Regions from separate parts of the Homo sapiens genome. Here regions 1, 3, 4 and 5 are each linked to region 2. Evidence: promoter capture Hi-C in 16 types of primary human blood cells and fetal thymus (Javierre and others, 2016). All regions are on one chromosome and are shown on one strand. The core of a region is centred on a gene start or on the middle of the fragment in contact, and the rest is flanking DNA. Distances in the headings are between cores, read along the strand shown.

Region 1 (5,594 bases), core at 1,510-4,009, 700 kb after region 2:
TCAGAAAACAAACAAACAAACAAACAAAACACAACTTTCAAGGCCAAGCATGGTGGCTCACACCTGTAATCCCAGCACTTTAGGAGGCCGAGGCGGGTGAAACACTTGAGCTTAGGAGTTCAAGACCAGCCTAGGCAACAGGGTGAAACCCTGTCTCTATCAAAAATGCAAAAAAAAATTAGCCTGGGGTGGTGGCACGTGCCTGTAATTCCAGCTACTGGGGAGGTTCAAGCAGGAGGATTGCTTGAGCCTGGGAGGTGGAGGCTGCAATGAGCCAAGACACTGCCACTGCATTCCAGCCTAGGGGACAGAGCGAGACCCTATCTCAAAAAATACAAATAAATACAAATAAAAATCAAGAAAAGAGTTTTTTGAAAAATTAAAAATTAAACACTTGTTTTTTTGTGTATTATTTCAACTACCAGAACACTTATCTGCCATTATAGAAGCACTCTAATAAAGAGGGGTCTAAATTCAAATTACAACTTCTCTTTAAGTATTAACTGTTCTAACCTCACACACTCAAGGTAACTCAAGGTAGCAGATGCAATGAGCATTTCTGTTTCTTAGTATTGCTCTAATAAAAGATATGAAAAACAGCCTGGTGGTGGCAGCATAACACAGTTTCTGAGGAAAGGTATAAAACACAATGAAAACCCCAGGAGAAACATTAGAAAAAATGTAACCAGTAGGAAAATACAGGTGATTCCGAGCAATTAAAAACATTCTAATCAAAACTTCTAAGTGAAGAAAATAGCTTTAGTCAAATTCCTAGATACAGGAGTGATGTGCTATAGGGAGAAATGAGCACAAACACTAAAACACACCTCTACCTGATTCTTTAGGTGATGTTTACCTAGCAAACATATTGAAAATGTTTATTTATAATACAGTACATACATCTGCACTCTCTTGAACACCTAATATTGTGTCTCCCATTGCTGGCGTGCAATGTTTACTTACTGAATGATTGAATAAGGTAGTTCCAGAAAAAATATACATGTGGCCGGGCGTAATCCCACCTACTCAGGAGGCTGAGGCAGGAGAATCGCTTGAACCCAGGAGGCAGAGGTTGCAGTGAGCTGAGATCTCGCCACTGCACTCCAGCCTGGGCGACAGAGCGACACTCCATCTCAAAAAAAAAAAAAAAAAAGGAAGATACACATGTGTTCTGTTAAGTACTTTGTCTTTGGTAATTTACAAGTTTTGTTTTTTTTTTTTTTAATGAAAGCAGAGGAATCTTACAAAGTTCCTGTTAAAGTGGGTAATTCTAGGTATATGACTTTATCAACATCACTCAAGCATTTACTCAGTATCTGCTCAGGATACTCAGTAACTGAGTATCCTGTTCATGATACTGGAACTGAGGAAAGAAACTGAGGAACTGAGGAAAGAAAGCCCTGCAGATAAAATAGGGCCCTACTCTTCTCAGAGAGCTCAAAGTGAACGATAAGGATCATAGACCGGGTGCGGTGGCTCACGCCTCTAATCCCAGCACTTTGGGAGGCTGAGGCCGGCAGATCACCTGAGGTCGGGAGTTCAAGACCAGCCTGACCAACACGGAGAAAGCCCGTCTCTACTAAAAATACAAAATTAGTCAGGTGGGCATGGTGGTGCACGCCTGTAATCCCAGCTACTAAGGCATCTGTAATGCCAGAGACTGAGGCAGGAGAATCAATTAAACCTGGGAGGCGGGGGTTGTGGTAAGTAGAGATCACACCATTGCACTCCAACCTGGGAAACAAGAGGGAAACTCTGTCTCAAAAAAAAAAAAAAAAAAATGATAGTTGACATTCCTCTATCTAAAGGAGAAAATAGTTTTAAGTAAGAGATCATGTTGGTACCTAGAACAACCGAAAACAATGTCAAACACTAAAACCCCAGACCTATCAAGGAATCTGCACAACAATAAAAAACTGTCTCAAGCAAAAGCTATACAAAAAACCCCCAAAAACTAGTAAATCTAAGCTCTTTCTTTTCTTTCTTTTTCTTTTTTGTTTTTCTTCTGACAGAGTTTCACTTTCGCCCAGGCTGGAGTGAAGTGGTGTGATATTGGCTCACCGCAACCTCTGCCTCCTGGGTTCAAGCAACTCCCTGCCTCAGCCTCCGGAGTAGCTGAGATTACAAGCGCCTGTCACCACGCCCGGCTAATGTTTTTTGTATTTTCAGTAGAGACGGGGTTTCACCATCTTGGCCAGGCTGGTCTTGAGCTCCTGACCTCGTGATCCACCTGCCTTGGCCTCCCAAAGTGCTGGGATTACAGGTGTGAGCCACTGTGCCCGGCCTAATTTTTGTATTCTTAGTAGAGACAGGGTTTCACCATGTTGGCCAGGCTGGTCTCGAACTCCTTACCTCAGGCGATCCGCCCGCCTCAGCCTCCCAAAATGCTGGGATTACAGGCGTGAGCCACCACGCCGACCTAGCCACCCCGACAGGCCGGTTTCAATCTTTTAAAAGATGTAACTAGCACATATAGATCAACTGTAGCATTGTAAAAGGGAAACAGATATTCAAATAATTTGCTCCATGAGTAGAAACTTTAAAATCATCATTCCTGGCAATATTCCACTTTTACAATCCACCGATGAATAAGACAAGTGACCTGAAATTGCGTTTATGCTTTCTACATCCCATTATGTAAAATAATTAAGCTTATCCTTCACACCTTAAATGTATCATATCAAAGGCTGAGAGACCTTCGAAGGTCGCCAGGATAAATGTATCACATCAAAGACTGGGAAGGTTTCAAATTTCACCCTTAATACTACAAGTTCTAATTAGGAATCATTTTTACATACTTGCATATAAATTATACCACCCAGGTGAAAACCGGCATTTCAGTTGATTTATTCAACTGATAGAAAAAGAAAAGCTTACAGTCGCTACTGATCACTATTTAAAAACCGGAAAATAAAAAACGTACAATTAAATGCCCTCTTCTGCGTAGAGCTAGGTAGTTTTTTACAACCATACACATCCATACAACCGCCATCCCTTAATTTTTCTAATATTTTCGTCTCGCATATCAAACCAAAACCAAACCTCTCTCTCTTCCGGGAGCGAAGAGCCCTTTCACTCCCTTCGGAAGATGCGTAAATTTCAAAAGAGGAACATAGCGCTGGGGGAGGGTAATAATCTGCAGCTCAAAAAAACCGCGGGTGGAGAAGACGACCCCGGCCCCCGAACGCCTGCTTCTAAGACAAAGCTCAGCACCGCCAACCTCGACAAACATACAAAGAAGAAATACAAAAGCTTCTTCTCACAGTTGGGCGGAGGATGGGGGGCGGAGGGACGGAGGGACGTGAAAAGACGTTACAAACGGATGGCACGGAGAGAGGAGAGGGCCGGGAGCCAGGCAAGCTCGCTGGGGCCCTCGGCGGGGTGTCTAGGCCCGGAGAGGATCGCTGGGAGACCGGCCTCAAGTGACCACCTCCCGAGCCCCGGGAGCCGGAGGCAGCGGCGGGGGCATCCTTCCAGCGGCAGGGGAGGAGCCAGCCCACCTCTCCCCGATGCGCTCGCAGCCAGCTCAGGCAGCGCTCAGGGAAGTGTAAGCGGCGGTGCAGCCCCGCGGCTCCGCAGTAATCGCGCACCGCCAGGCCTCCGCGGACAGCGCTGAGGGCTCCGCGGCCCAGCGGGGGTTGACGCAGTGACTGGGGGAACGCGGCGGCAGCGGGGGCCGCGAGGGCTGCAGAGATCGAGACAACGCCGGTCCCCGCCCTCCCGCGCCTCTAGCCGCAGGCCGGCCGCCCTCCTCCCTCCCGCGCCGCAGGCTTGGCCCGCGGCCCCCTCCCCGCGCCCGGCGCTCCGCCGCGCAACGTCCTACCTGCAGGTGACCTGTTTAGTCCAGCCGCCGCCGCTGCCGTCGCTGCCGCCGCCCCCTCCGCCCGCCCCCAGGGACGGGGCGGTGACTGTGGGGATCGGGGTGGGGGAGGCTGCTGCCGCCGTCGCCGCTGCCGCTCCTGCTCCTGATGTTGTGGCTGTTGTTCCGGGAGTTGCAGCCTCCGCCATTACTGTTTATCCCACACAGCAAAGGCCCCGGAACTTCCGGGATCACATAGTTCCGGTCCGGCTGCGGGGAGAGGACGGCGAGGCCAGGCGAGGGGAGGGGAAGGACACTGAGGCACCCGTTCGGTCCCCGCCTGCTACGCGTCGCGTATCTGAGCGCTCTCGCCACTTCAACTGCGGGCCCAGAGCATGCGCGCCCGCGGCCCGCCCACGGCGCCGCTCATTGGTGGAGGGGACGTCTCCTCCGGAAAGGGGCGGGGCAAACGGGGGTCTGTACAGGTGTGTCCTAGGCTCGAAACCCCGGCGACGAAAGTCCATAGTTAGCGGCTTTCTTCCTAGCAGAGGCTGATATAGTGGAGCTGGGGCTGGGGACTAGGGACTTGCAGTCGGAAGACCTGGGTTTGAATCTGCACTTTCCCATTTCTCTAGTAATATTTGAGCTAGGTACTTGTTCTATCTGAGCCTCCGTTTCAGCCTCTCTCGAATAAGGATGACAGCAGACCCACATATGGTTGCTGTGAGGATTATATGATGTCCTTAGAAATCACTGAGCTTAGTGCCTGGTACATGGTAAACACTTAATAAAGGTTATCTCATTCCTGGTATCAGAGATGTGATCTTGGCCAAGTATTTTGGCTGAGCAATGCTCTAGAGGGCTGGTCCCCTTATCTCCAGGCTTCCCTTTCTAAGCCATGGGTCTTCTAGCAAATTATCCTACCTCTTGGTGCTCCTGCTTTCTCCTCTGTAAAAACGACAATAATAATAATAATAGGCCAGGCGCGGTGGCTCACGCCTGTAATCCCAGCACTTTGGGAGGCTGAGGTAGGCGAATCACCTGAGGTCATGAGTTCGAGATCAGCCTGGCCAACGTGGTGAAACCCCGTCTTTACTAAAAATACAAAAATTAGCCGGGTGTAGTGGCTAGTCCCAGTTACTCAGGAGGCTGAGGCAGGAGAATTCCTTGAACCCGGGAGGCGGAGGTTGCAGTGAGCCGAGATCGCGCCACTGCACTCCAGCTTGGGCGACAGAATGAAATTCCGTCTCAAAATAATAATAATAGTAATAGATAATAGTACCTACTTCAGAGATGGCTGTGAAAGTTAAATGAGAATCTGTTTAAAAACCTTTGTACTGGCCGGGCGCGGTGGCTCACGCCTGTAATCCCAGCACTTTGGGAGGCCGAGGGGGGCGGATCACCAGGTCAGGAGATTGAGACCATCCTGGCTAACACGGTGAAACCCCGTCTCTACTAAAAAATACAAAAAAATTAGCCGGTCATGATGGCGGGCGCCTGTAGTCCCAGCTACTCCGAGGCTGAGGCAGGAGAATGGAGTGAACCCGGGAGGCGAAGCTTGCAGTGAGCCGAGATCGCGCCACCGCACTCTAGCCACTGCACTGCAGCCTGGGCGACAAAGCTAGACTCCATCTCAAAAAAAAAAAACAAAAAGCAAAAAAAAAAAAAAAAAAACCCCTTTGCATTGTGCTTTTCACACTGCAGTGAATACATAATGAGTAACAAAATATGTCTGGAATATCCTAGCTTTTTTTTTAATGCGTCTTTAAAATTGTATGTATTTAAGGTGTAAAAC
Region 2 (5,315 bases), core at 1-2,500:
ACACATCGAAGTGTAAAAACTTAGTTGATTCTGGGTTGCTTTCTGGCTGGAAGCTGACAGAACGGACTGAAGAGAAACGAAAGACAGTGTGCGAGGCAGACCTACTGCTTTTCTGCCTTGCGTTCTTTTCTTTCTTGCTAAAGGCAGTCAAATGGGGAAAAATACCCCGATGCCAGGTGAAGGTGCACAACACAGATCGACCCAGACCGAGCCAGAAAAACGTCTCCGCCGCTCCCCCGGCTGGAAAACCCAAAGTCCACGTCCCCTTCCACACGCTAATGAGGGGAGATTTTCGCCTATTTCATTGTTCTGCCTGGCTCTGACATGGACTTTTCATCTCTCTCCTCTCTCCCCACCTAGCCCCGTGCATTCCGATTCCACAGCCCCCCCAAAATCGGAGGCTCGCGGAGAATAAAGGAGCGTGGGGTGGGCGCGGAAAGAAATGGGAAGGGGCGCGGGGCGGAGAGCGAAGTGGAAAGGAGGTGCTCCGAAAGGTAATGTGGGGGGGCGGTGGAAGCTAAGCCGCATCACCTTCATTTATCGCAAATAAATAAAAAGCACAGTCACCGGTCCGCCTTCCCCGGCGTCCCTGCCCTCCCCGGGCAGCCGCCCACCCTCGCACACGCCCCCTCCCCTCCTGCGCCCCCGGCCCCTCTCCCCGCCCTGGAAGCAAGACCCTGCCGGCGCCGGGTCCCGGTCATCTTCCGGGCGAGGGAGGGGGTCGCGGCCCCCTCGGGCCCCGGGTGGGGGCTGGGGCAGGCGCCGGGGGCTGCGGGCGCGGGGCCGCGGGCAGAACAAAGCTGCGGGGGCCGCGGAGGGCGGCGGGCGCGGGGTCGGCGGGGCCGGGCGCCCCTTACCTTCGTACACGGGGGCCATCGGGGCCGGGGTGTCCGCGGTTCATGGCAACGGGGACGGGAAAGCGGCGCGCGAGCTCGGCCCCCCCAGCCTCAGTCGGAATCTGCCATCTTGAGCCTGTGTCTCCGCTCTCGGCGCAGCCGAGGCCGCCCGCGCCCGCATCACCGCCTCCCGTGGCCGGCGCCGGGGGAGGGGGCCGGGCGCGCCGCCGCCGCCGCCGCCGCCGCTGCCGCCCGGGCCCGGCGCGGGGGGCTCGGGGCTCGGGGCTCGGGGCGGCCGGGCGGGCGGAGCGGCCGAGGCCGAGGCGCCGAGCGGCCGCGGCCCCCGAGCGGATCCGCGGAGGGGCGGGAGCCGGGGGCAGCGCGCGGCCAGGGCCGGCGGGGCTCAGCTCAGCATGGCTGGGCGCGGGGGCTCCGCAAAAGTTGCTGGCGGAGGGGGGCGGCGGGCGGGGGCGGGGGCGGGGCGCGGGGCCGGGAGAGCCACAGGGAGTCCGCGCGCAATCGAGCGCCGATGGCACGGATGCGAGGCGGGGAAGGCCGAACCGAAGGGCAGAGCCGCGCCGGCGGCCCGAGGGGACCGCGCTGGGAGGGGCTGCCGCGCAGCGCGGGGGGACTGGGCGCAGGGCGGGCCCCGGGTAGTGGGTGAGAGGGCCGGCCTGGACCCGGCGGGCGCACGGCTCCGAGCCCAGCGCAGCCGAGCCGGTCTGCAGAGGGGCCCCCAGAACTTTGTGTGTGTGTGTGCACGCGCGCGCGTGTGTGCCCAGGTGCGAGGGTTCGCGCGTGTGCTGGCGGGGAGGGAACCGACCCGAAAGAGAGCCCCACGCTGGCAAAGTGGCTCGCCCATCTCACAGCCGGTTGGCGCTCGCGGAGGTAGGAGTGGAATGAATGAATGAAGGAGTGGGCGCGCGCCGTGCTCCGGAGGAGGGCGGGTGAGTGGAGGAGCTTCGGAAAGCCACACGAGGTCAGAGGCACCGAAGCCCTGCCGTGCACGCCGCGGAAATGCAGCCCCCGGGGTGGTCGCTGGGTTCCTGCCGGAGTCTGGCTTCCACGCCACCCTGATCTTCTCCTCCTCGCGTCTACACTGTCCCGAGGGCCGCCACTCCATCACTTGAATGGGAGCTCACAACTCTCTGGGTCCTCGCTTTTCTCAGCGCTCTCTCCTATCAGGGCTTCCGCTAAACACTCTCCAGACTCTCCCCAGCCGGGAGCCTCTCCAGGTTTGCTTCTCCAGCTGCCTCCCGGATGCTTGGATAGGATGCCCTGCCATCCCCTCCAACTTAGGAAGACTTGTTGAGTCTCCTCTTAGGCACTGTTTTTAAAACTGTGGGTCGTGACACAGTAATAGATCATAAAATAAATGCAGCGGAAGGCAACCAGCTTTCAAAAAGAACGAAATGGAATCCAATAGAAAATATTAGAGTCCATTGCCCTTAGTAAGGGCAACTATTGTTTCATAAACCTTTTGTTTCGATTATAGGTACTGGACAAGTGTACTGGACCATGATGTCAATTTTATTTCCGTCTGTGAATCGTGGGTTTAAAAAAGTTGAAAAGCTATCTGTGTAAAATAATGATCTCTAACACTGTATAACTTTCTTAAAAACAACCTCGTGATTTTCTCACTACTTCTTATCCTTTCCGGTCTCCATCCTCCGTTCCCATCCTTCAGTCCTTCCCAAAAAAGGCAAGCTCTTTCACACTTTTTTAGTGGTACATCACGACACCTTCCTCTGTGTGATCTTGTACTCTGCGGTCTTCCTTGCCCCCATAATCAATGCTACACTTCCTATCCCTTCTCTTAACCTAATGCCATTCACGTTTGCAGAATCCTAGACTACTGTTGCTAAAAGGACCTCAGAGGTCATCTGGGCCAGCCCTGCCCTTTTAGAGTTGAAGAAATGGAGTCCAGAGAAGTAAAATCTGTTGCCCAATGTCACACAGTATTGAAGCTTAGGAATAGGTCTCGTGGCTCCCACTCTAGTGTTTTTTGCTCCACACCGGTCATTTATCTCCTTCCCTTCTATCCTCCCTGCAATCTTTAACTTTAGTCTTGGCCCAGGTCATCCTAAATATTGCCATCTTCATAATACGTGGTTCTGGCCATGCCACGCTCCTGGCTAACATCCTCTAAGGACTCAACCTCTGCAGGTGGGGCTGAGTGCCTTGGCTTTTCATCAAGGCAGGCGAGTCCTGACTTAGCTTTCTAAGGACATGAGTTCAGCAAGTCACTGCTTCTCTAGCCAAACTGGTTTACTTGTAGCCCAGTGCCAGCTTCACCCATCTCTGTCACTGTGCCTTTGCCCAAGCGGTCACTTTCCCACCCACTTTCCCAGAGGGGTACCTTCTCCATCTTCTCTCTTTAAGCAGATTCTACCTGTGCCTGGCTCACCTCCTCCACAAAACAGCCCGAGATAGCGTGGGAGTAAGTCAGACCTAGGTTCAAATCCTAGCTCTTCCACTTAACTATGTGATCTTGGTCAAAATGCTTAACCTCTCTGAGCCTCAGTGTCTGTATTTTGATTATGAGAAGGAGAACAATAGTAATGTTCTCCTTTTGCATCTGTAAATCTCTATCATAGCCTTCACCACACAGGTATGTAACTCCCTGTTAATACATACCCTACATGCATGTCTCTCTGCCCCTTTCTAGTGCTGGCCATTAGAACTTGCTGCCATAATGGCAGTGTAGCTACTTATGTCTGTGGAGCACATGAAATGTGGCTAGTATGACTGAGGAACTGAATTTTTAATTTTAATAACCATGGGTGGTTAGTGGCTACCATTTTGGACAAGGTGTCTCTAGACTGTAAGCTCAGTAAGGACAGAAACCATGTTTTTCTTGTTTTGGATTGTATGTCCAATAACTGCATTGCCTAACGCATGGTGAGTACTGCACACATATTTGTTGAATGGATGATAGCTGCAATTTGTTGCATGCTCCCTTGTGTCCAGCACAACACTACAAACTCGATAAAAGGCATTTCATATAGTCCTCATCACAGCCTCTGAGGCTGGGTTAGATTAGAGAGAGAGTTTTATATAGAGGGCAGACACATAGTAGGGGTTCAATAAAAGTTATTATTATTCTAACTCCTCCCTCTGACCAGCCCCACTGACTTTTGTCTCATCTTTCCTTAGGCTCACAGAACATTTCCTGCCTGTTGCTCACACTCTGTTGTCCACAGCATACCCGCACCCTAGATGGCTGACTCTTGTCTTCTGTGTAGGTACCCTGTGTTCATAACTGGATTGGCAGCGTCTTGGAGCAAGGCCCTGCTTTATAGGACTGCCCCTGAATTCAGCACTGACCAGTGTTCAGTAACTGCCTCTAAGTCCATCCCAGCTGCTGTCTAGCAGTGAGTGATTCTAGGCAGTCTTAAAATGAATATCACTTGTGTCAACCGAAAACATTTTACAGGTAGTCTCCTCCCCATAAGAAGGGAACAATCTTGGGCAAGGAAATAGAGTCCCATGGAAGGGGAACAAGATGGAGCCATACAGACAGAGGTCCACCTTCTCTTCAGACCACCATGACTGAAGCTGTATCCATGAGATGCAAAACATGCATTCAATTGAGCTAGCGAAGTTCGTATGATATAACGGAAAAATATTCTTGAAATGAGCTTAGATTTTCCTTCATGAATTGGCAGACTGAGTATACTAATTGTCTCCTTTCCTTCCGGTGACTGCAGTCAAGTGGCAGCAAGGTATAAACCTAACAGTGAAATGTCACTGAAGGAGAGCATGGGAGCTGGGAGGAGAGAGGATCTGTGACAGAACCTGGGGAGTACCAGTATTTGAGACATGGGAAGAGGAAAAAGAGCTCCCCATGGACAAGAGGGCAGAGAAGTTGGAGGACAGCCAGGACGGGGGATTCCTCAACATCCCAGCAAGGTCAACAGTGCTGCATGCTATTGAGAGGCCCACGTCAGATGAAAGCAGAAAAGCAGCTGGGTGCTGTGGCTCACGCCTGTAATCCCAGCACTTTGGGAGGCTGAGGCAGGCAGATCACCTGAGGTCAAGAGTTTGAGACCAGCCTGGCCAACATGATGAAACTCCATCTCTACTAAAAACACAAAAAAAATTAGCCAGACGTGGCGGTGGGCACCTGTAATCCCAGCTACTTGGGAGGCTGAGATAGGATAATCGCTTGAACCCAGGAGGCAGAGGTTGCAGTGAGCCGAGTTCTAGTGCCATTGCACTCTAGCCTAGGCAACAAGAGCTAAATTCCATCTCAAAAAAAAAAAAAAAAAAAAAAAGGCAGAAAGGCATCAATTGGATTTAGCAACAAGAGTTGCATTAGTGACTTTGGTGAAACTAGTTTGGAGGGAAATACAGGTTTCTTAAATTCTACCTGAATATGTGTCCTGTTTTATGGGTGGAGATAGTAGAAGGATGGGGAGGGCTAAGGAGGTACCAGAAAAGAGCACCAGAGATTGCTCCAAGCAGAGAGGGCCTTAC
Region 3 (5,227 bases), core at 1,590-4,089, 570 kb after region 2:
TGGCTATAATGCTGTGCCTCTGGAGCCTCCCCCAAACAAAGCATATACACTCCCAAGCAAGCTTTTAAGCAAATTAACAAAGCAAAAGAGATGCCAGTTTCCTCCCAAGACAAATAAAACTATGTGATGACAGGTTTCCCAGGCATTCACAGGACAATGCAAAGGTGGCATATCGGGCCTTGAAGCTGGTCTCCAGGCTCTCCCCAGCACTGGTCACTGACTCCAAACAAATGCCTTATTCCAACCAGATTAGGGGAGCAAAGGAATTAGTAATTGCAAAAGAATACTCACGACTATACCCGATGAGGGACCCAACTGCCAGAAGCAGACTCAGGGCAAGAACCGGCGCTCTCTTCTGTAGTACATCAGAGATGAAGCCTTGCAAAGTTCCACCTTCAAGCAGAGTGTCGAGCAATCAAAATCACTTCTAATTTAGCTCGCTCACCTGAGGCGTGCTCCCCATTTGCCCTCTAGTCTCACTAGCAGCAGCCTGACACTAGTCTATCAAAAAATATGGCTGGGCCGGGCTCGGTGGCTCACACCTGTAATCCCAGCTCTTTGGGAGGCTGAGGCAGGTGGATCACAAGGTCAGGAGATGGAGACCATCCTGGCTAACACAGTGAAACCCTGTCTCTACTAAAAATACAAAAAAATTAGCCGGGCGTGGTGGCGGGCACCTGTAGTCCCAGCTACTCAGGAGGCTGAGGCAGGAGAATGGTGTGAACCTGGGAGGCGGAGCTTGCAGTGAGCCGAGATTGCGCCACTGCACTCCAGCCTGGGTGACAGAGCGAGACTCTGTCTCAAAAAAAAATAGGTCTGACTCCCTGAAAAGGGGTCCTCCATAACTTCCTTTTAGGAATAAACTGTCTGTTAAATCACCATGATGACCAGTGGGGACAGGAGACCACAAATCAGACAGCAAAACATGAAAAAAGGAAAAACTGTCAAAGCCATCGGCTATCCCTTACAAAAACAAGTTGTGAATGCTATTTTTGATTTTTCTTTTTAATTTGAAAGATAATGAATTAAGAACTATGCCTTGCTGGGCATGGTGGCTCATGCCTATAATCCCAGCACTTTGGGAGACCAAGGCTGGGGGACTGCTTGAGGCCAGGGGTTCAAAACCAGCCTGGGCAACACAGTGCCCTTATCTCTATAAAAGATAAATTAGCCGGGCATGGTAGCACGTGCCTATATTCCCAGCTACTTGGGAGGCTGAGGTAGGAGGATGGCTTGAGCCCAGGAGGTTGAGGCTGTGGTGAACCGTATCGTGCTGCTTGAACCCAGGAGGCTGAGGCTACAGTGAGCTGTATTGTGCCACTGCACTCTAGCCTGGGCAACAGAGCAAGACCGTGTCTCAAAAACCAAAAAAACTGTGCCTTACAGTATATTGAGGCCAGTAGGTGGGCACAGTGGCTCACGCCTGTAATCCCAGCACTCTGGGAGGCCGAGGTGGGCAAATTGCCTGAGCTCAGGAGTTTGAGACCAGCCTGGGCAATACAGTGAAATGCCATCTCTACAAAAAATACAAAAAAATTAGCTGGGTGTGGTGGTGCATGACTGTAGCCCCAGGTACTTAGGGAGGATCGCTTGAGCCCAGGAGGTTGTGGCTCCAGTGAGCCAAGATCGTGCCACTCCAGCGTGGGCGACAGAGCAGTACCCCCATCTCCAAAAAAAAAAAAAAAGAAAAAAAAAAGTGGCTAGTAAATATTCACTAAAATAAAATTTAGCAGTTATGGTTTGCTAATAGGACACAATCTTTAAAAAGCAGGGATATGAATCTTTCAAGCAACAATGTCACATACAGCACCATTCTGAGTTGTAGGGGCTATTGGACATCTGGTGTGTCCTTATCAGATAGCAGGCAGCTGGACAATTTCAACTTCAGAGGATACAGAATATGGTGAGGTCTAACGGTGGCAACCTCACCTTTGGCTCTGGATTTAAGAATACGGGCAGCCAAGTTCAAATACAGTAATAGCAGATTGCCTAGCACAGACTGTGTGCTTTCACAAGCTCACGGCAGTTGAGTCTCACCACAATTCTAAATGTTAACATTATTGAAGGTTATTAAGATCTGGCACAGCCATGTAAGTAATACCCACTAAAATACATTCTGCTCCTCTGCCTTACTTCCTTGTTCATACTTATTACCTCCTTGTTGATACTTCTAGCTACAGCAAAAAAAAAAAAAACCACTATTAAAATCTTTGTTTATAATGAAACAACTGTAAAACATTCACAAAAATTAATCCCTGCTGTTACGTCTACCTCTATGATCTGACGACCTACACACTAAGGTGTATTTCCCCTTTATCCTCAGCAGATATGTTCCATGACCCCCGTGGATACCTGAAACCACAGACAGTACCAAACTCTATACATACTATGTTTTTTTCTATACATACATACCCACGATCAAGTTTAATTTATAAGTTGGGCACAGAAATTAACAATAACGACAAAATAGAAAATAATAACAATATACTGTAACATAAGTTATATGAATGGTCTCTCTGAAAATATCTTATTGTACGGTATTAAGAGTAACTGAAACTTCGAAAAGTGAAACCACAGATAAGTGGGGGACTGGTGTATTCTTCCTTATTAGGCTGGGGAAGGTGGGGAAGGTGGGAGGTAGATACAATGAACACGTTCATATTCTAACTTGGATCTCTGACATACAATTAGCTTTAGAGCTAAGATATCACTGAGAAAGCCGTATGAAAGGATTGCATTTAAAGAGATTCCCATGTGCTTCCCGAGACAAAAGAACTGATCCATCAACAAAGGACTAAGAAAAAAGAGTCCAATAAATCACAGCGCTGCCTTAGGCTAGGTCTTCCTTTCTATGGACCTCTTGTTTTTTCTTTTCTTTTCTTTTCTTTTTTTTTTTTTTTTGAGTTTGGCTGTTTACTAGTAGGACAGTTTAGGGAAAATGGCTGTAGAATAAGTAATAAAACTTTAAATGAGGCCAGATTTCACAACCCAGTAAAAGATCACTAGTGACTAACTCTTTATTATGGAAAAGATGTATCACCGGCATACCTATGATCCCTCCAACGTCGTACCAAATGGACAGCTTGTCGGCTTCCGCCTCCTTCCAGCCGAAGTTGTTACTCAGATAAAAGGGGAGCCAGAAGAAGAAGGAGTAATTCACTAACTTCAAGCAGGCGTAGGCCAGTGAGTACTACAAGAAAAGCATTCAACTATCAGCGAGGGACAAATAGCACAGCACGACTACCATTTTTAATGTCATTTAAAAGCAAAACAAAATAAAGGAAGTTAGGATGAACAGAACCTGATTTTACAGTTAAACATCTCTACAAACTCCCACATGCCTGACTTCAGCTAGTCTCCCTCTGCTCTTCATCCCTGTTAACTTCTAGACAGGCATGTACAGCAGGCCTTTGGAATAAAAAACACCTATGGCTACTTCTTAGCTGTGTCCAGTTTCTCCTCCTATCAGTTCTCTGGTAGAAGCAAGCCAGTGTTTTGAACCTATAAGGCAGAGCACATACCCATATTTCTTTATTCACACAAAGAGGAATGGTATTCATGCCACTAACCAGCGTTAACCATAGGCAAAGAAGTCCAGGAAGCATCACGGCCTTTACTGGGAGCAGCCAAACGGGGTTGGTTATTCTACTCCTTGCCAAGGCAACACTGTGAACAATGGACAGCAAAGGGACTACACTACAGTTCCACGGTCTAAGAAAAGCAGCAGCATGATAATTCCTTTCACACTAGTTTTCAAAAGCTCCACATTCCCTGGTCTGGTGGCAAAGAAGAGAGTCTCTCTGGCGAGTCAAAAATGAAAGAACATGTCATCATCGGCCTCGTGGCTCTCCCTTGAGGGGAAAAAAATGCTGCAGCTGCATGAAGATGGTGGTGGGGCTGAGACTCCTATATTCAACACATTACTACCAGGAAATCCTGACATTCAGCATCAAAGGAAAAAGGGGGGGGGGACAGAGGGGCTGACTTCAAAGGGTGTCTGGCTAGTATATTCTTTTCCCTGGAGCTGCCAGTTATTCCCTAGGTATCACTTGTTTTAAAACAGCTTCCCTGGCAGGCAACAGCCACCCCCTAGAGAGCCAAATCCCAATCACGAGTGCATTCTGACCAGACAGCCTGCTACAAAGACAAAGGAATTAAGTTAACTAGATTTCCTTTACATCCCTGCCCATGTCAGAGAACAATAGCTTGTGAAGAACAAAGGAACAGCAAAAGAGGTCCATATTTAGTCACGACAAAGTTCTTTCTCAAAAATTAAACTATTACCAGCAGAGTACTTTAAAAACCAGTTAAAAGATAATAATCAATAGCATAAGAACAGGTCTAAAGCAACCTGCATTTCTCTTATATCATATATCATCACTGGGTTAAAGAATTGTGGAAAATTACATTTTAATTCATACTTAACTTTGTTGGAAATGTTAGTTCTCTCAGCTTGGAGGCACTGACAGAAGGGGATTGACAGGCATGTATTAAGATGGCCTACAGATCACTCTACCTGAGGGATCACATTCATAAAGCACCATTGACAAATGAAATAACAACAGGTGCTTGTTCAAAACACAACAGCCCAATGTTACAGGCCCCAGGGAAGAGTGGAATAATTTCTATTCCATGGGAAGGGGAACTGAGACACACGGACGGGTTGCGTGACTCACCCCAGGTGTCACAGAAAGTTAGTGGGTAAGCTGGAAACATAACCTAGGCCTCTTAACTTCCACTCCAGTGCTAGAGTGCCCGAAACATCAAGACAGAAAAACTGCAGCAGAAGGGATTTAGTGTAGACGTTAGAAGGCTTTCCTGACTGCACAGGCTGTGGAAAACACTGGAATGCATTACCAAGAAAGACTGTGGAGTGCTCTCTTCTGGACCCTTTAAAAGGGGGCAAGCCAGGCGCGGTGGCTCACGCCTGTAATCCCAGCATTCTGGGAGGCCAAAGTGGGCAGACCATGAGATCAAGAGATGGAGACCATCCCGGCTAACACAGTGAAACCCTGTCTCTACTAAAAATACAAAAAATTAGCCAAGCATGGTGGCATGCACCTGTAATCCCAGCTACTCGGGAGGCTGAGGCAGGAGAATCGCTTGAACCCGGGAGGCAGAGGTTGCAGTGAGCCGAGACTGCGCCACTGCACTCCAGCCTGGGTGACAGAGCGACACTCCGTCCCAAAATCATAAATAAATAAATAAAAAATAAAAGGGGGCAAGG
Region 4 (5,927 bases), core at 2,260-4,759, 520 kb after region 2:
ACTCCAGCCTGGGCAACAGAGTGAGACCCTGTCTCAAAAACAAACAAATGCACAAATAAACCAATAAAAAAACCACAAGAAAGATTCTCAAACCAACATACAATGTCTCCAAGAATGTGAAAACCTCTTTGAAAAGCTTGAGAGGATTCCACACGTCCCTTTCATCTTCTCTAGGCAGTACTCCTCCAACTCTCTTTATTTATTTATTTATTTATTGAAAACCCCTTAGAGCTGGATATCTTCCTTTCCCAAAAGAAAAGTTGTCTACACCTGTGGTTTCCAGTCTTTTAAATGTCACCTTTAAAAAAGGAAGGGGGCTGGGAGTCACTTCTAGTTGCCAATTTGTTATTTAATACACAAGGGAGGTTTTGTTTTTAAATCCCAAATATACTGTTATTATCACCAACATTTTATTAAAATGCCATCAAAAGAAAGGGCATCTTACCACCAAAAAAAAAAAAAAGAAAAAAGATAAGAGGAGCAGAATCTCAGAATAAAGTGTCCTTGCAAATAAATACCATAATTGGCAACTGACTCTGACAGGTCAAAAAATTTTAAAACACAGAATGTTCTAAAAAAAAAAAAATCAAGCAAAAGAAATTGCAGCATAAAATATTATCCTAAGATGTGGCATTGCATTTTCATTTTTAAATTGTGAACACTGCATACAAATGAAAGAGTGCATATGATGTGGATATCTACGGTTTTAAAGAATGATAATAAAACGCACAACACATAATACAGAACTCTCCTGGTGCTCCTCCCCTGGTGCTCCTCCCCTGGTACTCCTCCCCTGGTGTTCCTCCCCACCTTCCTCTCTAGCTCCTGGAGGACACTGCCATCCTGTGTATTTATTAATCACTTCCTGTATTCTTTCTCTCTCTCTCTCTCAACATATATATATATATATATATATGTATATATATATGTGTGTGTATATATATATATGTATATATATATGTGTGTATATATATATACACACACATATATATATATATGTTTTGTTGTTGTTGCTGTTGTTTTGTTTGTTTTTGAGACAGAGTCTTGCTCTGTCACCCAGGCTGGAGTGCAATGGCACCGTCTCGGCTCACTGCAACCTCCACCTCCCAGGTTCAAGTGATTCTCCTGCCTCAGCCTCCCAAGCAGCTAGGACTACAGGTGCGTGTCACCTCACCCAGCTAATTTTTGTGTTTTTAGTAGAGACAGGGTTGCACTATGTTGGCCAGTCTGGTCTCTAGCTCCTGACCCGGTGATCCACCCGCCTTGGCCTCCCAAAGTGCTGGGATTACAGGCGTGAGCCATCACACCTGGCCTCTCTTTATATTTTACTACCTATGTCTCAACCCAGGAACAAGGCATTAATTAGTTTGGCCTCTTTTTACGGTTGTTTTCTCTTTGTTTGTTTGTTTTGAGATGGAGTCTCAATCTGCCGCCCCAGCTAGAGTGTAGTGGCGAGATCTCAGCTCACTGCAACCTCCACGCCTCCTGGGTTCAAGCAATTCTCCTGCCTCAGCCTCCCGAGTAGCTGGGATTACAGGCGCCCGCCACCACGCCCGGCTATTGTTTGTTTTTTTGAGGTGGAGTTTCGCTCTTATTGCCCAGGCTGGAGTGCAGTGGTGTGACCTCAGCTCACTGTAACCTCTGCCTTCCTGGTTCAAGTGATTCTCCTGCCTCAGCCTCCTGAGTAGCTGGGATTACAGGCATGCACCACTATGCACACCTAATTTTGTATTTTTACTAGAGACGGGGTTTCGCCAAGTTGGCCAGGCTGGTCTTGAACTTCTGACCTCAGGCGATCCACCCACCTCGGCCTCCTAAAGGGCTGGGATTACAGGTGTGAGCCACCGCACCCGGCCATGTTGTTTTTTTTAGAGATGGGGTCTTGCTATGTTTCCCAGTGGCTGCCCATCAGCATAATCATAGCTCACTGTAGCCTTGAACTCCTGGGCTCAAGCAGTTCTCCCACTCAGCCTCCTGAGCAGCTAGGACTACAGGCATGCACTACCACACCCAGCTTGCTTTTACTGTTTCTGTGAAAGGAATCATGTTGTATATGACTTGCTTCTTTTCCCCCTCCTCAAAATAATGGTTTTCTTTTTTGTTGTTGTTGTTCTTTTTATTTTGATGAAGTCTCGTTCTGTTGCCCAGACTGGAGTGCAGTAGCATGATCTCAGCTCACTACAACCTCCGCCAACCAGGTTCAAGCGATTCTCCTGCTTCAGCCTCCAGAGTAGCTGTGATTACAGATGCTCACCCCAGCTGATTTTGTATTGTTAGTAGAGATGGGGTTTCACCATGTTGGCCAGGCTGGTCTCGAACTCCTGACCTCAAGTGATCCACCTGCCTCTGCCTCCCAAAGTGCTGGAATTACAGGCATGAGCCGCCACACCCAGCCCCCACTCAAAATAATGGTTTTCTTGATTGATTCCTGGCTCACTGATTGCCATCTTCTCCCTGAGTCCTCACATGGCCGAACTGGTGAGGGAGCTCACTGGGGGTTAGGATTTTTACATATGAATTTCGTGGGGCACACAAATATTCAGACCATTCCAGGACTGGGACTGCAGGTGCAGGCCACCTCACCTGGCTAATTTTTGTATTTTTAGTACAGACAGGGTTTCACTATGTTGGCCAGGCTGGTCTTGAACTCCTGACCTTGTGATCCATTCACCTCAGCCTACGAGGGCTCACCAGAGCCCTGTGAGGAGGAGTTGGAATGGCCACTTTATTTATGCAGCAGTCATTGATGAAAACCCAGTTTCACCCACACTTGTGGATGGAGAGGGAAGCAAGGCTCCTCATGCCCTCATTATGCAATTTGTGGGTAACAGCCTCCAGGTCTCCAGTGGTTTCTATGGGGCAGGCAGTCCAGGGCCCTAATGTGGGCTTCAAGGGCTGGTCACCAGTCGATTACCCACTGGGGTAGCCCAACTTCAGGCTCTGGTCACCACCCAGCGGTTGGAAAATCACCTTCAAAGGTGCTGTGAGCAGGTGAACGTCACAGACCCACACGAGAGCACGGGCTGGCTTGGGAACTGCTGTCCTGTCGGTTAACAGCCCAATAGGTTAACAGGATAGGCCTAGGCTACTTTTACCAGATCCCTGGATCTCCCTAAAAAAAGGATCCTGACAATACCGGTCTCTAGATCCTTTCTAGAAATGCAGAATCAAATGCCATACCAGAGGACAAATGAATCTGAATCTTGCTTTTTTTTTTCTTTTTTTCTTTTTTGAGATAGGGTCTCACTCTTGCCCAGGCTGGAGTGCAGTGGCGCAATTATATTATGTAATAGGTCACTGTAGCTCTGACACCTACCCCGCCAACCACGGAGCTCAAGCGATCCTCCCACCTCAGCCTCCTGAGTAGCTGGGACTACAGGCATGTGTCACCACGCCCAGTTAATTTTTTATTTTTTTGTAGAGGAGACAGGATCCCCCTGTCTTGCCCAGGCTGGTCTCAAACTCCTGGGCTCAAGTGACCCTCCTGCCTCAGCCCCCCAAAGTGCTGGATTTACAGGCATGAGCCATTGCACCTGGCCTGAATTTTGCATTTTAGTAAGATCCCAAGTGACCTGTACCCACGTTCAAGGTTGGGAAGGACTGGCCTACATCTTTCATTGTGTGTGTATTTTTAAATAAATGTTTTTATTAAAATAGAGCACACATACAGAACCATTTGATAAATTATCACAAAGTGAATCCATAGAGGCACCCAGCCCCCCGATTAAGAAATAGAATAGGGCTAGGGTTAATAGCACCCTAGAAGTTCTCTTTCCCAGACACTCACCCCCAACCCTGGTCCCCAAAGGTAACCAATATTCTCGCTTCTAATGGCATAAGTTAATTTGATCCACATTTGTTCTTCATGTACATGGAATCATATTGCACGTATTTTTTTGTGTCTGGCTGCTTTCGTTTGTGAGATTCTAAAATCCTCACTAGGAACCCCAGCCTTCCACTGTGTACTTACACATTTTATACTGCTCTCTCATGTTTCCTGAGTCTTCTATCCCCAGAAAACTGTAAAGTTAAGGAAAGCCCATTTTATCCAAATAAATATTTAGCGAGCACCCACACTGTGCCAGGATTGTGGGGGGCTGAACCCCAACATGTGTTGCCAAATCGAGAGTTCCGTGTCATGTGAGGCATCTTGCCTAAGTAGTTTTCAGGGATGTGGAAGATTCACGTTGGTATGTGATTTCAATCTCTGAAAGGAATTTATTACCTGCCCTAAAGACACCCCAAACTGCACTTCAGCACACAGCTAACAAGTGACAGCAGGCTTCTCGCTTATGTCTTTAGAACACATCATAAAACCTAGTTCCCAGGAGCTGCTGTCTCGATGATTTCTGCTTTTCTTCAAGTGTTATTTGGTTAAATATTGAGATTCCCTCAGCTAAAAGTTATAAGTCTCTCAGAAAGCTGTTGATGCTTGTTCTTCTCAGGGCTTCCAGAAATAAATTATGCACGGACACTTTCCCCATTGATGGTTGTGACACTTAAGCCCTCTTGTTTGTTTAATTTTTAAAATATTTTTGAGACAAGGTCTCACTCTGTCGCCCAGGCTGGAGGGCAGTGGTGCAATCATGGCTCACTGCAGCCTCAACCTCCAGGGCTCAAGTGATCCTCCCACCTCTCAGCCTTCCCAGTAGCTGGGACTACAGATGCGTGCCACCACACCTGGCTAGTTTTTGTATTTTTTGTAGAGACAGGGCTTTGCCATGTTCCCCAGGCTTGTCTTGAACTCCTGGGCTTAAGTGATCCACCCGCCTCCATCTCCCAAAATGACAGGATTACAGGCATCAGCCACCGTGCCTGCCTTCTTGTTTGATTTGTTCACTGTCAGTGTTGCTGAGACCAATAGTCAGTCACCTTCTTTCTGGGCCTTGATTTTCTCATCTCTGAAAAGGAGGAAATGTATTACATCAGAGGTTTCTAACCTGAAATCCCTGGATCTCCCAGGGAATCCATTAATCCCTGGAAATTATATGGAAGATTATGCATGTGTGTATTCGAGGGGAAGGGAGTCCGGAATAACTACCCCCATCCCCTCCCAAAATTAAACACCATCATGCTCAGTAATACCCAATAATTTTTTTGTTTGTTTGTTTTTTTGAGACAGAGCCTCCCTCTGTCACCCAGGCTGGAGTGCAGTGGTGCAATCTCGGCTCACTGCAACCTCCGCCTCCCAGGTTCAAGCAATCCTCCTGCCTCAGCCTCCCGAGTAGTTGGCATTACAGGCACCTGCCACCACACCTGACTAATTTTTGTATTTTTAGTAGAGACGGAGTTTCCCCATGTTGGCCAGGCTGGTCTCGAACTCCTGACCTCGAGTGATGTGCCTGCCTTGGCCTCCCAAAGTGCTGGGATTACAGGTGTGAGCCCCCACATCCAGCCCCCAAGAACATTTTGGAGCACTATCATTCCACAATCATGTGGCTACTTGTGTCAGCTGCAGAGCATCACTTTTGCTAAGTGTCTGGTTCCAGCTGAATCTTAAGAAAAGGTGATTCACTTTGCCTTTTTCCTTCCATAAGTTTTTCTGCCCTAACAGAAAGAATACTGTAAAAGTGCAACACCTCTTAATAGCGTCGCCCTCTGATCTCTTCAGGTGAAGGTCATTTCATTTAAAATAGCAAGGTCCTGAATCACGTCCATCAATTTTCATATAACCTCAATCTGGGTCCTTTTGTATTTGGCTGGCTTGTTTTCTAAATGCTGGAGCTATTCTAACCCTCAGAACGTGTCTGCAGGTCTGGTTATCATAACCAAATGGATGGGAGACGGGAGCATACCAATATATTTGGAACAATTCAACAATCCAATTTTCTCTACCCAGAGAAACAGCTCTGCAGCAGCCCCGAATGGCTACACATGCCAGGTTTGCCTAATTGGACATGGGTGTTAGCCCATCACCTGAGCAAAGG
Region 5 (5,390 bases), core at 1,109-3,608, 590 kb after region 2:
CTACCCATCAGTGATAAGCTATCCCAAAGGGATTCCTCTTAGCCATCTGCACTCTGGGTTAACGTGTTACCACACGCCCTGCAGTTTCAGTTCCAACCTTGTAAAAAGTGGAATAGAAGGTTCCAGGGCACACTAGCTGCCTGTTGAATCTGACCCTTGGGTTTCATGACATCCCAAGGCAGGGAGAGTAGGAAGGCAGAGACAATAATTAGCTGGAGACAGGTTCTGCCTTCTGCTCTCCTCCCACTGAGTGGCAGGAATTAAAATGCTGAGATCATGGCAGGAAGTGAGACTGAAGACCTTAAGCGCAGCACACTTTAGGTTTCTTCCATAAATATATAAAATATCTTGACTGAAAACCTAAATTCAGTTAGGACCAGGTGTTTCTAATAAATTGACTATCTCTAAAACTTGGCTGGGCGTGGTGTCTCACGCCTGTAATCCTAGCACTTTGGGAGCGGGGAGAATTGCTTGAGGCCAATAGTTCAAGACCAAACTGGCCAACATAGCAAGAACCCATCTCTAAAAAAAAAAAAATTGGCCGAGTGCAGTAGCTCACACCTGTAATCCCAGCACTTTGGGAGGCCAAGGCAGGTGGATCACCTGAGGTGAAGAGTTCAAGACCAGCCTGACCAACATGGTGAAACCCTGTCTCTACTAAAAACAGAAAAATTAGCCAGGCATGGTGGCTTGCGCCTGTAATCCCAGAAACTTGGGAGGCTGAGGCAGGAGAATCACTTGAACCCAGGAAGCGGGGCTTGCAGTCAGCCGAGATGGCACCACTGCACTCCAGCCTGGGCGATAGAGTGGGACTCCATCTCAAAAAAAAAATGAGAAGATAAATTTAAATATGAACGTTTCTCCCTCATTATCATCAAGCTTCCTCATCTTAAGAGAAGCATGTCAGCCTTAAAGTAGATTCTATGTTGTCTAGCTGCCCCTCATATGGACTTATGCTACACAGAACAAAAGGGATGAAGAAAATCTCAATTCTGCTTCAGATGACAGAACAATACATGCTTTTTTTTTTTTTTTTTTTTTTTTTTTTTTTTTTTTGAGACAGAGTCTCACTCTGTCATCCAGGCTGGAATGCAATGATGTGATCTTGGCTCACTGCAGCCTCTGTCTCCTAGGTTCGAGCAATTCTCCTGCCGTAGCCTCCCGAGTAGCTGGGACTACAGGCCTGCCAATTTTTGTTTTTTTAGAGATGGGTTCTTGCTATGTTGGCCAGTTTGGTCTTGAAGTATTGGCCTCAAGCAATTCTCCCCACTCCCAAAGTGCTAGGATTATAGGCGTCAGACACCACGCCCAGCCAAGTTTTAGAGATAAGTCAATTTATTAGAAACACCTGGTCCTAACTGAATTTGCCTGGCTAATTTTTGTATTTTCAGTAGAGATGGGGTTCTGCCATGTTGGCCAGGCTGGTCTCAAACTCCTGACCTCAGGTGATCTGCCCTCCTTGGCCTCCCAAAGTACTGGGATTACAGGCGTGAGCCACCGTGCCCCACCAGAATCAATACATTCTGTTTTGCTGCAGAAAGCAAAATGCCCATAAGTTACAGAAGGAAGTGCAGCTCAAGATAAAAAAAAAACCATGACCATTGATTTTTCATGGCATTGATCCTTTATGTCCTAAATCTAGTCCTATAGATGACTCCATAGATGAGGAAACTAAACACCAAAAAAAGGTTAAATTCTACTTCGCAACCAAGTTTAACACAGCTAGTTAGACTACACTGCCTCTTAAACTGGTCCCTGAAAGAAATGAGTGGCTCGAAGAGAAGCGAGCACCCTGTCACCAGCTCCAGCCAAAGCCCCGTGCCTCTACATGGGGATTTTATACAGAAAATACCCAAGGTGAGGAGGTAGACTAAATGAATGACCAAAGAACTGTTCCAACTGTTTCTCTGTTTCCTCTTTGAAGAAAAGATACTCTTAATAATTAACCAAATAGGCTGGGCGCAGTGGCTCACACCTGTAATCCCAGCACTTTGGAAGGCCGAGGTGGGCGGATCATTTGAGGTCAGGAGTTTGAGACCAGTCTGACCAACACGGTGAAACCCCATCTCTACTAAAAATACAAAAAAAATTAGCAGGGCATGGTGGCACATGTCTGCAGTCCCAGCTACTCAGGAGGCTGAAGCAGCAGAATTGCTTGAACCCAGGGGGCAGAGGTTGCAGTGAGCCAAGATTGTGCCACTGCACTCCAGCCTGGGCAACACAGCAAGACTCCATCTCAAATAAAAAAAAAAATAGGCCAGGCATGGTAGCTAACGCCTGTAATCCCAGCACTTTGGAAGGCAGCGGTAAGTGGATCAACTGAGGACAGGAGTTTGAGACCAGCCTGGCCAACACGATGAAACCCCATCTCTACTAAAAATACAAACATTAGCTGGGCATGATGGTGTGCACCTGTAATCCCAGCTACCCAGGAAGCTGAGGCAGGAGAATCACTGGAACTAGGAGGCGGAGGTTGCAGTGAGCTGAGATAGCACCATTGCACTCCAGCCTGGGCAAGAGAGCAAGACTCCGTCTCAAAAAATAATAATACAATAAAATTAAATAAATAAATAAAAATAACTAACCAAATAAACATTTAGAAACTACTTCAGAACTTTTACCCAGTATTTCACATTGCCTGGACATTGAGAATTAAAAGGCGTTTTTAATAAGGCACACTTAAAGACAGAAATAAGGCATACTTAAAGACAGCATCTTATATGCTGGGGAGAAAAGGAAGGCTCCTCTCACAGTCCACGTTCCAGCTGCTGCCACCATCAGCTCCAGAACTCTAATGTGGCATCCACCACAGCTGTTCCTACAGCCAGACAGAGACGCCAGCTGCCTATCCTGACGCTGAATTACTCCTCGCCACCGTGGAATGTCTCCCAGGGTGCTACCTCTCCAGGATCCCACCTTCCTTTTTTTTTTTTTTTTTGAGATGGAGTCTCATTTTGTCATCCAGGCTGGAGTGCAGTGACGCAATCTCGGCTCACTGCAACCTCCTCCTCCCGGGTTCAAGCAATTCTTCTGCCTCAGCCTCCCAAGTAGCTGGGACTACAGGCACCCACATCTGGCTAATTTTTGTATTTTTATTGGAAATGGGGTTTCTTCATGCTGGCCAGGATGGTCTCAAACTCCTGACCCCAAGTTATCCACCTGCCTCGGTCTCCCAAAGTGCTAGGATTACAGGCGTGGGCCACCGCGCCCAGCCCCACCTTTCTTACCACTCCACCCCCGCTACCTGGCCCATTCCTCACCCACCTCTGAGGACTGGAAGCCCTAGGGCTCAGGTTTCACACCTCTTCCCCGCCCTCGCCTGTTCTCTTGATCAATTCACGCAGCCTCACAGTTTTGATCTATAAATCATCTAAAGGCCAAGGACTCCGAGCGCAGTGGCTCACGCCTGTAATCCCAGCACTTTGGGAGGCCGAGGCAAGCGGATCGTCTGAGGTTGGGTGTTCCAGATCAGCCTGACCAACATGGAGAAACTCGGTCTCTACTAAAAAAACACAAAATTAGCCGGGCGTGGTGGCGCATGCCTGCAATCCCAGCTACTCAGGAGGCTGAGGCAGGAGAATTGCTTGAACCCGAGAGGTGGAGGTTGTGGTGAGCCAAGATTGTGCCATTGCACTCCAGCCTGGGCGACAAGTGCAAAACTCTGTCTCAAAAATAAAAAATTAAAAACATAATAATAATAATAAAGGCCAAGGACTCCAAAAACATGTATCTTCAGACTGAACCTACACCTTGAACTCCACACTCAATGACCAAGTGTCTGCTCTTCATCATCTGGGCAGCAGAGGTCAAATGTAATGCATCCAAAAGCGAGTCATCAAAGCTTTCTATCTCCCCAGTCTCCCCTCTGCCATGACACTTCCACCCTGGAGGTGTTCTTGACACATTTCTCTTACATTCCACATTCAAGAGGGAAAAAATATTATTGGCTTTACCTCCAAAACACCGCTAAAATCTACTTCCCCCCAACCTCTATTACTGTTGCGCTGGACCCAAGTCACCATCATCCTTCACCTCAAAAGAACTCGGCTCCCAGAGCAAGTGCACCTATCCAAACCTAAGTCAGGTCCTGCCGCTGCTCTGCACAAAACCTTCCAGCAGCTCCCATCTCACTCAAGGTTAAAGCCAAAGCCGCCCCAAAGGTACCAAAACCCTACAGATCTGAGCCCCACCGCATCTCTGGCCTCTCTTCTTGCAGCTCTGATCCAAGCACACCGACTCGCTCACCTGCTCAGGTCTTCACTCAAATGCCCGCTGCCTCCTGAGGTCTCCCGGCTGTGCTACTTAAAATTACAACCTCACCCAGGCCCCTTTAGTCCCCCTTCTCTGCTTTATTTTCCTCCGTTGTACTTACCACCTTCAAATATACTCTATAATTTATTTGTAGCATTTGGTTACTGTCTGTCTCCCCTAACTCCAAGAATACAGGTCCATAAAGGCAGGGCATTTTGTGTTGTTCGGGATAAATTCCCATTGACATATGCTAGATGAGCAATAAATATCTGTCGAATGAATGAATAAATGAATGGGAAGAACAAACAATATAAACTTCAGAAATACTGAACTCTGCCTCAGTCAGCAAATTCAAAATCCCTTACAAATTTTGTAAGGCTCAGGGTCATTTATATTTACATTTTTCTTTAGCTTTAAGCCCTAGAGTTCCAAAACTTACCACAGCATAGGAGAAGAGGAAAATGGTATCCAGTGTGCCGAGGAAAAGAGTCGCTTTCTCTGCACTGGGGAACAAATGGTTGCTGCTCCAGATCTACAGTAAGACAGCAGGAACAGGTCAGTCCCTGTAGAATCTGCCAGGGCTTTCTGTTTCCCAAAGCCCCTTCACAAACACTTCCAAAGCACCAGTAATGCTCAAGAACAACTTTTACTTCAAATGTATTTAGAAATAACTAGTATAGCCGGGCACAGTGGCTCACGCCTGTAATCCCAACACTTTGGGAGGGCAAGGAGGGCAGATCACCTGATATCGGGAGTTCGAGACCAGCCTGACCAACATGGAGAAACCCTGTCTCTACTAAAAATACAAAATTAGCCAGGCATGGTGGCACATGCCTGTAATCCCAGCTACTCAAGAGGCTGAGGCACAAGAATTGCTTGAACCCAGGAGGCGGAGGTTGTGGTGAGCAGAGATTGCACCATTGCACTCCAGCCTGGGCAACAAGAGCGAAACTCCGTCTCAAAAAAACAAAAAAGAAAAGAAAAGAAAGAAATAACTAGTTTTTTTTTTTGCTTTTATTATTTTTAATTGACACATAGTAATTGTACATATTGAGGGAGTACAGTGTGATAGTTCAACATATATTCAACATGTCATGATCAAATAAGGGCAATTAATGTATCACCTCAAATGTGTATCA

What was found. Contacts are between HindIII fragments. The CHiCAGO score rates a contact against its expected background, and 5 or more counts as called.
Region 1: a contact is called between a fragment that was not itself captured here and the fragment with the promoter of HIPK2 in region 2, in 1 of 17 cell types (total B cells). The highest score is 5.0, in total B cells.
Region 3: a contact is called between a fragment that was not itself captured here and the fragment with the promoter of HIPK2 in region 2, in 2 of 17 cell types (M0 macrophages and M1 macrophages). The highest score is 9.2, in M0 macrophages.
Region 4: a contact is called between a fragment that was not itself captured here and the fragment with the promoter of HIPK2 in region 2, in 2 of 17 cell types (naive B cells and total B cells). The highest score is 7.4, in naive B cells.
Region 5: a contact is called between a fragment that was not itself captured here and the fragment with the promoter of HIPK2 in region 2, in 1 of 17 cell types (monocytes). The highest score is 6.7, in monocytes.

Annotation. Positions count from the first base shown.
Region 1 is chr7:140,475,337-140,480,930 of GRCh38, forward strand. MKRN1 (makorin ring finger protein 1) reads right to left here and starts at 4,169. Exons shown (of 8, transcript NM_013446.4): 1 at 3,824-4,169. The coding sequence starts at 4,008. RefSeq lists silencers at 3,400-3,479, 3,760-3,899, 4,190-4,299 and enhancers at 3,435-4,275, 4,606-5,516. The HindIII fragment of the contact is 221 bases long and covers 2,650-2,870 here.
Region 2 is chr7:139,776,748-139,782,062 of GRCh38, forward strand. HIPK2 (homeodomain interacting protein kinase 2) reads right to left here and starts at 1,251. Exons shown (of 15, transcript NM_022740.5): 1 at 858-1,251. The coding sequence starts at 876. It also overlaps a transcript of TBXAS1 not described here. RefSeq lists silencers at 847-936, 1,367-1,596. The HindIII fragment of the contact is 7,054 bases long and covers 1-2,801 here.
Region 3 is chr7:140,345,578-140,350,804 of GRCh38, forward strand. SLC37A3 (solute carrier family 37 member 3) reads right to left here. Exons shown (of 15, transcript NM_207113.3): 10 at 3,049-3,190; 11 at 292-393. Among named protein-coding and RNA genes, the nearest start is that of SLC37A3, 50 kb to the right of the region's middle. The HindIII fragment of the contact is 5,560 bases long and covers 60-5,227 here.
Region 4 is chr7:140,297,657-140,303,583 of GRCh38, forward strand. LOC124901758 (a long non-coding RNA gene) reads right to left here. Exons shown (of 2, transcript XR_007060560.1): 2 at 3,627-4,901. Among named protein-coding and RNA genes, the nearest start is that of SLC37A3, 98 kb to the right of the region's middle. The HindIII fragment of the contact is 6,750 bases long and covers 135-5,927 here.
Region 5 is chr7:140,364,900-140,370,289 of GRCh38, forward strand. It overlaps SLC37A3 (solute carrier family 37 member 3), which reads right to left. Exons shown (of 15, transcript NM_207113.3): 4 at 4,691-4,783. Among named protein-coding and RNA genes, the nearest start is that of SLC37A3, 31 kb to the right of the region's middle. RefSeq lists enhancers at 2,850-3,351, 3,352-3,851. The HindIII fragment of the contact is 2,962 bases long and covers 878-3,839 here.